Linked DNA regions of Homo sapiens: region 1 is linked to region 2. Evidence: promoter capture Hi-C in human tissues and cell types (Jung and others, 2019). All regions are on one chromosome and are shown on one strand. The core of a region is centred on a gene start or on the middle of the fragment in contact, and the rest is flanking DNA. Distances in the headings are between cores, read along the strand shown.

Region 1 (4,747 bases), core at 1,652-4,151, 1.3 Mb before region 2:
TAGGATAGTAAGAATACCTCTGAATCTTTCTCCACTACCACACAGTTCAACATTCAATACTTGTTAGCTACATTTCCATTTGCGGGCAATGATATAAGCAAAGCACTTTATAAATAAAATACAAATGATTTGGCCATTAAACTACTAAATATACTTAAACTAAGAGGACATTTTAGCTGAATATTTTTAAAGTGAATTTTCGTTGGATTTTTATTTTTATACATGCAACTGTCTAGAATAAAGTCTAACAAATTAGAACAAAAGGAAACACAACTGAGAAACTATGATAAATAACAGAAAAGCCAAATTTCTGCTTGAAAGATAGCAAAGAAAAAACTGTAATTTATTTCACAGTTCAGAGAATCAAGACTACACATTATTAAACAATCCAAAATTGAATATTTTTGCAGACATAAGGCAACAAATATAAAAGAATAGGCTTGCTTAGAAAATAGAAATAACTCATTTCCAGCATTTTATTCCATTTATATTAGAAAGAGGGTCTTAAGAGTTATGTCTACTAATTTATAGGCTGATACTTTACAAATTTAATACTTCCTACATGTATGGCCTTCAAGAAACAACAGTTAGGCAGAACTAATAGGTTTGTAATCTAAAAACAAGTTGTCAAAAATGAAAAAATGTTGTTGGGTTAGGGTAATGCTAATCTATTTTGTTACACTAAAAGATAATCATCCTTTCATGAAACTTTTAAGAAATATCAGGAAGCCAGTTCTGGTTGCTCATGCCTGTAGTCCTAGCTACTTGGAAGGCTGATGCAGGAGGATAACTTGAGCCCATTTCAAGACCAGGCTGGGAAACATAGACTCTGTCTCTAAAAAAATTAAAAAGAAATATCAGGAGTAACCATAAAAGATTATCTTTATGGCTAATCTCAGCCCCATTATTTTTATCAATACAGGAGTGCGAATTATTAGCAGGGCACCACAAATTGGCATAACCTCAGTGAAGTCCCTGCAGCTATGGCATAACCTCAGCTCTACTAGAGCAAAGACTGGTTTGTTGTTTTGTTTTGTGTTTTTTTTTAAATTTTAATCCCACAGCAAGCACAAGAGTAAGTGAACTTATATTAACTACCCTTAAATGAGGCTGATTCAATAAAAAGCTCAATTAATTGATAAACTACAAACTCAGAGCAAACCAAAATACTTTCAACATTTTCATTGAAAGATCGCTTAATGCATCCAGAATCAGAGCCAGAAGTATTAACTAGCCGGTGTCCCACGTCCTTTTCCAATAAAACCCTTTTCTCTCATGGTTATAGGGTTATGCTCATAAGAGTGAAGGTTTTCAAACTAAGTTTCTGGGAACCCTATGGTTTTTCAAAGTTGCATCAGGTCAGCTGAGGGGCAAGGTACTTTGTGCTGGGTCTAGGAAGCCAGGTACTTTGTGCTGTTTCAACAAGAGCTCTTCTGCTTTAACTAGTTTTATCTCAAAGTTTGATAATACATACAAAAAAAGTCTGGCTCTTTAAAAAAAATTACAAAAATGTAACAGTAGAAATACAGAATTAATACTTTCTACACAAATTCTTATCTCTGTAATATCAGTTTCAGTATTTCATCCTCTTAAAATGCCTTCAACTTACACACTTCCTTCACAATGAGCATAAAAGAATGATTAAGTTCAACCTTTATGCTAGTATAAGCATAGTATAATAAAGTCACACCCTAGTTCCTGAGGTTGGGTATTTCCTAGACTCTTTAGTCACTTGTACTTATCAGAGGGTGTGATGAGTTACTTCATTGATTTTCCCTGAGTTTCACTTTCAGAAAGTAACTTTAATGTCAAATGTTAAGGTATATTTTTTTGTCATCATTGCATTTTGGTATAATCAATAGCTAATGTCAATGTTTGCCTCTTAAATAACTTGATGAAATAAAACTCCTGTATATTTAGACATCAAAGAATAAAGACCTAAAAGATGACTTATTTATCTTATATGAATACCAATAATCAGTTCAGATATTTTTGGAAAGTCTCCATTCTTTCAAGAGGCTGGATTACTTTTGTCCCTTAGATGTCAAAAACAAAACACTTGGTCCCTGTATTCTACATATTGGGTTCATATAAATATATTTACACATACAAAAACTTCTATGTACTTTTCTTAGCACATTCTATATACTATTAATAACAGTATAAATACATTATACACAAGGATATAGAAGCTACTGTCACCTGGATATCTTGCAGGATGTGACTTTTTGCCTCAAGCTCCCCCCATAAATATATATTTTTTACCAATAAAAAATAAAATTTACATGAGTTTTCACATGTGTGTATGTATGTGTAATTATACATTTTTTTCTTTTTATTGCATATATCATCAACTAATAAAGAGGTGAGTGTGCCATCAGAATGAGACCTGAGGTGGCTGTGCTTCCAACCCCACCTCCCAGCAAGAAAAGAACATTCAAGACCAAATTCTCTATCTCACCTTTACAGAAAGCCAATCCCCCAGGAACAGAACAGTGTCTTCTTCTCTATATTTATAACACCAAAAACATTGTTGGTACTCAGTCAATGTTAACTAATAACGATGTTGATAGTCATGACTTTCCACTCCTGGCAAGTTCTAGCAAAGTCTGAAGGCATGCTGTTCTGAACATTTATAACTGAAATACGAGAAGCCTTTCATGAAGCCGCAGTTTCAGTTGCTGAGAGTCAGGGAAATGCATCATGTTTCAGCAAGTTGCTAGTAGCTACTACATTCAATTTCTACATATTCTCATAACCCAGGGTACAATCACCAATTAGAAAAGAAAAAATAAATTCATTAAACACCTAGTTTCATCACCTAAAACCAGCAAATGCTTTGTTGGGACTTTTCATGATTCAACTAATATAAAAAGCCATTTTGGATCATACTCCTCAAGGTTAAATCTTCTAATCTTAAATGATAAATTCTTTTACAGAAGAAAAATCTCATAATATGAAATATATTTCATAATTGGAATATTTAGAATGCTTGTTAAATTTTACTTTTAATTTTTTTTTTGGAAGTAGAAGACTTAAAAGCCTAATACTGAAATACAAAGAAGGCACTTAATATTTATACTTAAGAATCAAAAGTGGAAAAATGTTCACAGCAAGTTTAAAGACAAAAAAGTCAAATGTGTATACCATCTTGGAGTCCTAAGATGTGAACCCTTATTTTCAGGTTCTGCCTTTTACTTTTTGTGTAATTTTGACCAACGCATGAAACCTCTGTGAGACACAATTTCCTTATCCGTAGCATGGAAGTAATACAAACACTTAGATTATTATAATTTTAACTTATTATAATTTAAAATTTTTTAATAAGAAGAGCTCTTTAAATGTTGTTTGCATATACCTTTAAAATTTGCTTAGTAAAATATAATAAAATACAGATCATTTGTTTTGCAATTTACTGGAATCAAAATGGAAAAAAAAGAAAAAATACAAATAATGTAATGTCAAAACTACCTTCTGAAATGGAATTACATTTCATTTATATCTTAAGCTTTTCTAAAGGCTTTGTATAATATTTGTTTAGAAAATTCAAAGGAGCAAAAATATTTCTCATGTAATAAAATAAAGCCCAACTTCAAAACTTACTCATATTATCAGCTGGGCATGGTGGTTCGCACCTGTAATGGCTCTCAAAAAAAAAAAAAAAAGAGAAATGTTGTAAGAATGCACACTTATTCTTTCATTTATCCTGATTAGATGTATCCAAAATAGATTTGCTTTCACTGGAAATTTAATTGATTGTTACTGATTGATAATTTAATTAAACTTCTGATGACAGTTCTTCTATCACTCAACCTCCCAGTAAAAAAGTAACATAATCCAGCTTTCAGTTCCTCACATAAGGAGCTTGGAAGTTGCCAATCTGTCCTAACAACAAAAAAGCTGAACAAACTGAAAAATCAACTCTTCTTAGATCCATAAGAGAAGTGAGGTCACAGGGCAAACTGCTGCCCAAACCACTGGTGAGATAGACAGTAGGCTATGGAGAATCACAACATACCGGAGCAGAAACCTCCAAGAGAACCAGTGCTGGGGTAGAAAAACCTCAACTATAATTGACAAATCGTTAGAGGCTGAGTGCAGGCAAGTCTGAAAGTTGAAAAACTCCAGAGGAACCCAGTAATAGGGAGGTCCCCACAATTCTGTGTGTTTTACCTCCAGGAGTGCTACCAAGTTCTCACAGTAAATATTGGAGAAAAATTCTCTCATGCTTCCAGCAAGAGAAGGGAAAAAGTACACATCTTTAAATCTGCTGAAGCTTGGTTCTTCCTGAGGAGAAACTAGTTAATCAGAGCCTAACCTGCTGGGGTTTTTTGTTCCATTTTGTTTTGTTATATTAGAGCCTCACTGACCTGGGGAAAGAAAAATGCCCAACTCCAGCCCACTCTAGCCTACCATCAAGGAGAAAGGAAATACTCAATTCCAGCCCACGTTAGCCATTCTCTCTCACCTATGGTATAAGAAAAAAAAAACCTGAAAAACACTTAGGAGATTCACAATCCAGAGGCCCAGGCTCACCAAAAGTCTGAAACCTAATTATGGAATGATAGAAAGCTTCCCCTCCACTGCCCCTTACCACACCACCACCCACATAACTTTTTTATTTTATTTATTTATTTATTTATTTATTTATTTATTTATTTATTTATTTGGCAGAGTTTCGTTCTTGTAGCTCAGGCTGGAATGCAGTGGCACAATCTTGGCTCACTGCAACTTCCGCCTCCCGGGT
Region 2 (4,782 bases), core at 1,912-4,411:
CTCTGCCTCCTGGGTTCAAGCGATTCTCCTGCCTCAGCCTCCCAAGTAGCTGGGACTACAGGCATGTGCCAACACACCCAGCTAACTTTTGTATTTTTAGTAGAGATGGGGTTTCACCATTTTGGCCAGGCTGGTCTCAAACTCCTGACCTAAGGTGATCCACCTGCCTCAGCCTCCCAAAGTGCTGGGATTACAGGGGCGAACCACTGTGCCCAGCCTGAGAATACTAAAATACTATATGGAGTATGATGAAGGAAAATATGCATAGAAAAAAAGAGAGAGACAAAGGCAACCTGGTTAAATATTCATTGTGGTAGAATTATGTTCAGTGGGTCTGAACTCTCTTCTTGGCTCCCTGATCTTATCCTTTTGGTACCAATTTCCAGTCTTATTTTCTCTCTCCTCAAGCCTCTCCATGCACAGCCAATTCTTTCTTGGCAATGCCTCTTGGGAGCAGTCCAGGCCCACTTCACCTTATACAGGTTTTTGTGAAAAGATTCCTATTTGGCCTGACTGTAGCCTATCTATGGCCAGAATAACACTGTCGTTCTATTGCTGAATACATCTACTGTGTTAATCTGTCCATTTATGTTTTATGCACTTTTATGTATGTGCTACGTTTTTCAATAAAAAGGTTTTTTTTTAACTTTATGTGTTTTCATATTTTGTTTTGTCAAGATAAGGATAAATGGTTTTCTGCTGATTTGCTTCATTATACCTCTAAATGTAATGTTTCATCAGAACAGCTGGGTACCTGTTTGTGACAATGGAGTGAACACAGGCTTTTCTCCCCTTCATGTACAATGTCTACCAGCTCCTACACGTTTACCAATGCAAACTCCGTAACTTCCTGTAAAACCTGGCTTAAAAATTTCCATCATCAAACCTGCCTGATGTGTGCTACCAAAATTTATACTGTATCATCTTCTACATTTATCAAGCAACTACTAGCTGTAAGGCCTGAAGATTTAATGTCCTAAGCTGTTTGCAATCTTTTTGTGCAAAGCAAACATAAAAGATGATAACAAATAGCAGAGAAGGGCATATGTGTTCAAAGTGGGGAAGAGGGAGAGTGGTGAAGAGAGGATGGGAGTGGGCGAGACTGATAAAGGCTAGAAGACACCATGTAAAAATTGGATAGAAGATATTTAACGAATGGGAGAGGAATGGCACGGCACCTTGGAGACCAGGATAATGGCAGGACCCTTAATGGAAATGAGCATCTGGAGCTGTTTTGGGGAAAAGCCGGGCAAGTCCAAGCGGAATATTATAATGTGCACTGACAGACGTTACACTAAAACTGAAGAAGACATGGAAAGCACAGAATCTTAAGCCAGATAAATACAGGTGATAGATGAAGTAACAAAGTCCCAAAAATCTATTTTTCTTAAAAAAAAAAAAAGCGGGGGCAGGGGGAGGGTGTGGGGATCCTAAACTAGTATAAAGACACATAAGAAGGAAAAGAGGGACCTGAGATTGACAGCCTGGTCAACGATGCCTGAAACAGCACGGGACTTCAGAAAATAAGGACGAGCAAACGAACTCTAGGTGAGGCAGTGTAGGACAGTGGTTAACAGCTCCAGTGCTGGAGACAGAACCCCAGAGCTGGAATCTCCTACCGCTGAGATGGGTGTGGCCTTGGGCAAGTTACTTAACCTCTCCGTGCCTCAGTTACCTCATCATTAAAATGAGAATAATATTAATATCTACTTCCCAGGATCGTTGTGAAGATTAAAAGCTTTTACACAAGAACTGACATCAGTGCCTGGCACCTAAGCACTGATAAATGTCTGCCACGGGGTGAGGGGTGGATTTTATTTAGTTCTCGGTGACCTTGGGGAGACCAATTTCTGATCAGTAGTACGAAGAGAAACTACAAAGAAAGGGAATGAATAAGCGGGTGCGTGGTAAGAACGCAGAGGCAGCCACCAGGTATCGATGACCCTTTCGGAGCACGTAAGCAATAAAAGTGAGGAATGAAATAAAGGGTAATCCGAGAGCACAGGGTTAAGTGAACATGCTTTCCGAGGGGAGATCGTAGCAAGAGGGAAAAGACCACTGGCGAGGAACTCGGGTCGCTAAAACTGTTCTTCAGTCGACGCGGGACTAACTACACTGGGAGCAGGACAGGTGTAAAGACCCGCTCCTTCCCGTCCCGAGTTCCCCAGGGAGCTCCAAAGAGCGCTCTGTCCGCACCGGGTGAAGTTTGAAACAGCTCTGACTTGAAGGGGGAAAGCCCATTTCCCAACGAACCTGGGAAAGCCCATTTCCCAACGAACCTGGGAAAGCCCATTTCCCAAAGAACCAACGATACCTGGGACGACAAAACAACAGGCTTTCCTGTTTCCATCTCCGGCACGACCTGTTCCACGGCTCTGTATTCATCAGCCTCCTCCCGGCCAGCAGCAGCCACCAAGACAGGATGCGGCTCGGGGAGCCGAAGGGACAGCGCCCCAAGTTCATCTGGCCGCGGGAGCAAAAAAAGCGCCCAAAGGGGAAGGAAGGAAACAGAAAGAAAGGGGCTCCGGAATTTGGGGGGGTGGCTAGCGAGGCCAGACCCCGGAGCTGGGAAAATGACCTCCGCGTCCAAGGTCGAGCAGGTCCTTCTCCCTCCCAGTCCCGCCGGCGAGCACCTCTGCCCCTCCCGCTCCGCTCCGCAGGGCCAGCGCCGCGCGGGACCCCAGTCCAGGCTCCGCTCCGCAGCGCGCCCACCGGGCCCGACCTTCCCTTCGGGATGCTGCCGGGTGGGGGCTCCCGAGAAGGCGCAGGTGAGCGCCGCGGCCCCGCGCTCCGGCGAAAAGGGCCTCGGTCCTCCCCACGCGCAGGCAGCGGGGACAGAACTTCCCAAGCGCCTCCCGAGCCCAGGGAGGGCCTGGCCCCGCTCCCGGGGCCCCCGCACCCGGGTCCCACTTCTCGCGCGCCGCGCCCAAGTTCCTCCATCCGGCCACTCCCGACGCCGTTCCCCTCGGCTCTGCCTCCCTCCCCAGTCTCTTCTCCTCCGCGCGCCGGGAAAGTTTGGCCCCTGCCCGCCGGCCTGGAACCCCGCACTCACCGCACAGGGAGCGGAGCCGAAGCGCCGGGCGCGCGCGGGAGAGAGGGCGGCGACTGGCAGCGCGAGCGCGGAGCTCCTCACAGCGGCCCCCGCTGTCCCGGCCGCCGACTGGGTTGGAAAGGGGAGGAGGCCGCCGGGTGTCACCTGCCCGCTATCCCACCCAGCCGCGTGACGCGCGCAGCGCCGCCCCCTGCCCGCCGCCGCCAGGTGCCCGCCGAGGGCCGGAGGGAGGAGCCGGGGCGGCGCGAGGGGGAGCGGCCGGGAGGGCGGAGGCCGCCCCGGCCTCGCCTCCGCCGCGCGCCCTGACTCTCGGGACTGGGGCCCACCGGCCGCTCTGGGTTAGCGGGGCTGGTCGTGGCACCGATGACCTTTCTTTCCGAGAGCAGATGCCATCACTTGGGGGACATCTCCAGGCTGACATAGCAGAGTGGAAATTGTCGTCATGCGTGACTCATTTGGGAATGAGCAGTAGAAAAATCCGAAATGAGGAAAACCTAGCTGAGGCTGGAGGCGGAGAAAAAGGGGACTCCTTGCTTCTGAAAGGGTATTGGGAGGGTTAATTCGCATCTGAAATGGAAGCCAGACCAAGAGGAGAAGGCCCTGGGAGGGGAAGGCCGACTTGGTTCAGCTCCATCCCCTGCTTATAAGGAATAAGAAACTAGAGAATTGAGGCAGCCTGGGGGGCATGGGGAGAGGACTTTTAGAGCAATGAAGATTAGATTGTATATCATCTAACTTTGTTTCTGGTAACAGCAACTGCTGCAGGAAAAAAAGTCTAGAAAATTCATTTCTCGTTACCTACTGTTGGATTGGAAAGTGGGGGTGGGGATGAGCGTTCGGAGTGTGCACCTGCGCTTGGTTTATTTATTTTTTAAACGTACCTGGCCTTGTGTCTGGTAATGATCCTCCTAATCGCTGGTATGATTTGGATCATCAATAGCTGAAAGGCAAAATAGGGGCCTAGAGAAGTTCCCTGCTTCTGAGGCAAAACCAAAGGCTGGTGTTGAACTGTCCAGAAACCTAAAAAACAATAATCATTTTTAGTTGCAGTCCTGACCCAACCACCTCACAAATGTGGGCTTTGAGTTTGTATTGCGAGTTCTCAGCATGGAATCAAGAAACACAAAAAGGGGCTGGGAGCGTCAGGACCACCAGAGAGGATGGGTAGGGAGAAAAAAAAAATTGGGGTGTCGGAAGCATATTTTCCTCACATGTAGGGATTGCCTTCGGCAGCTTAATCCCACTACATTAAACAAGAGGTTTTAATGTTTTTATGTAAAACTTCGAAAGTGTCCATTGAAAGAAAAGCAAAAAAAAAAAAAAAAAAAAAAAAAAAAGCTTAAATTGCAAAGAATCTCGAAGTCAAAAAAACTAAAGATTTCTCCTTTCTTTTAGATAACTTTGCTTTCATATTAAAAACAGATCATTTAGTAGACTTAGGAAGTCTTTTGGGAACGGGAGACAATTGCCTAATGATACTAGCCTTTGAGTCTATCACAATTTACCATTTATATATACTTATGAAATTTCAAATATGCAGAAGCTCAAATGGATTCATTTATTTAACAAATACTGGAGTGCTGCTATGTTCCAGGCCCTGAAGTTTCAATAGATAACAAATTCCCCGTTCTCAGGGACTATACGTTCATTCTAGTTGGAGATGACAGACAATACATGAATAAAGAAGTAAAAAAAATGTAGTGTTCAGCCAGGCGCAGTGGCTCACGCTT

The links. The method cuts DNA at HindIII sites, captures the fragments that hold promoters and counts their contacts. A contact is called where the count stands out against the background at its distance.
Region 1: a contact is called between a fragment that was not itself captured here and the fragment with the promoter of ELOVL7 in region 2, in 1 of the 25 tissues and cell types used here (dorsolateral prefrontal cortex).

Annotation. Positions count from the first base shown.
Region 1 is chr5:59,589,671-59,594,417 of GRCh38, forward strand. The region is part of intron 1 of PDE4D (phosphodiesterase 4D); the gene reads right to left. Among named protein-coding and RNA genes, the nearest start is that of MIR582, 110 kb to the right of the region's middle. The HindIII fragment of the contact is 3,046 bases long and covers 1,379-4,424 here.
Region 2 is chr5:60,841,108-60,845,889 of GRCh38, forward strand. It overlaps ELOVL7 (ELOVL fatty acid elongase 7), which reads right to left and starts at 3,162. Exons shown (of 9, transcript NM_024930.3): 1 at 3,053-3,162. RefSeq lists silencers at 2,834-2,893, 2,904-3,063, 3,084-3,383. The HindIII fragment of the contact is 13,401 bases long and covers 1-4,782 here.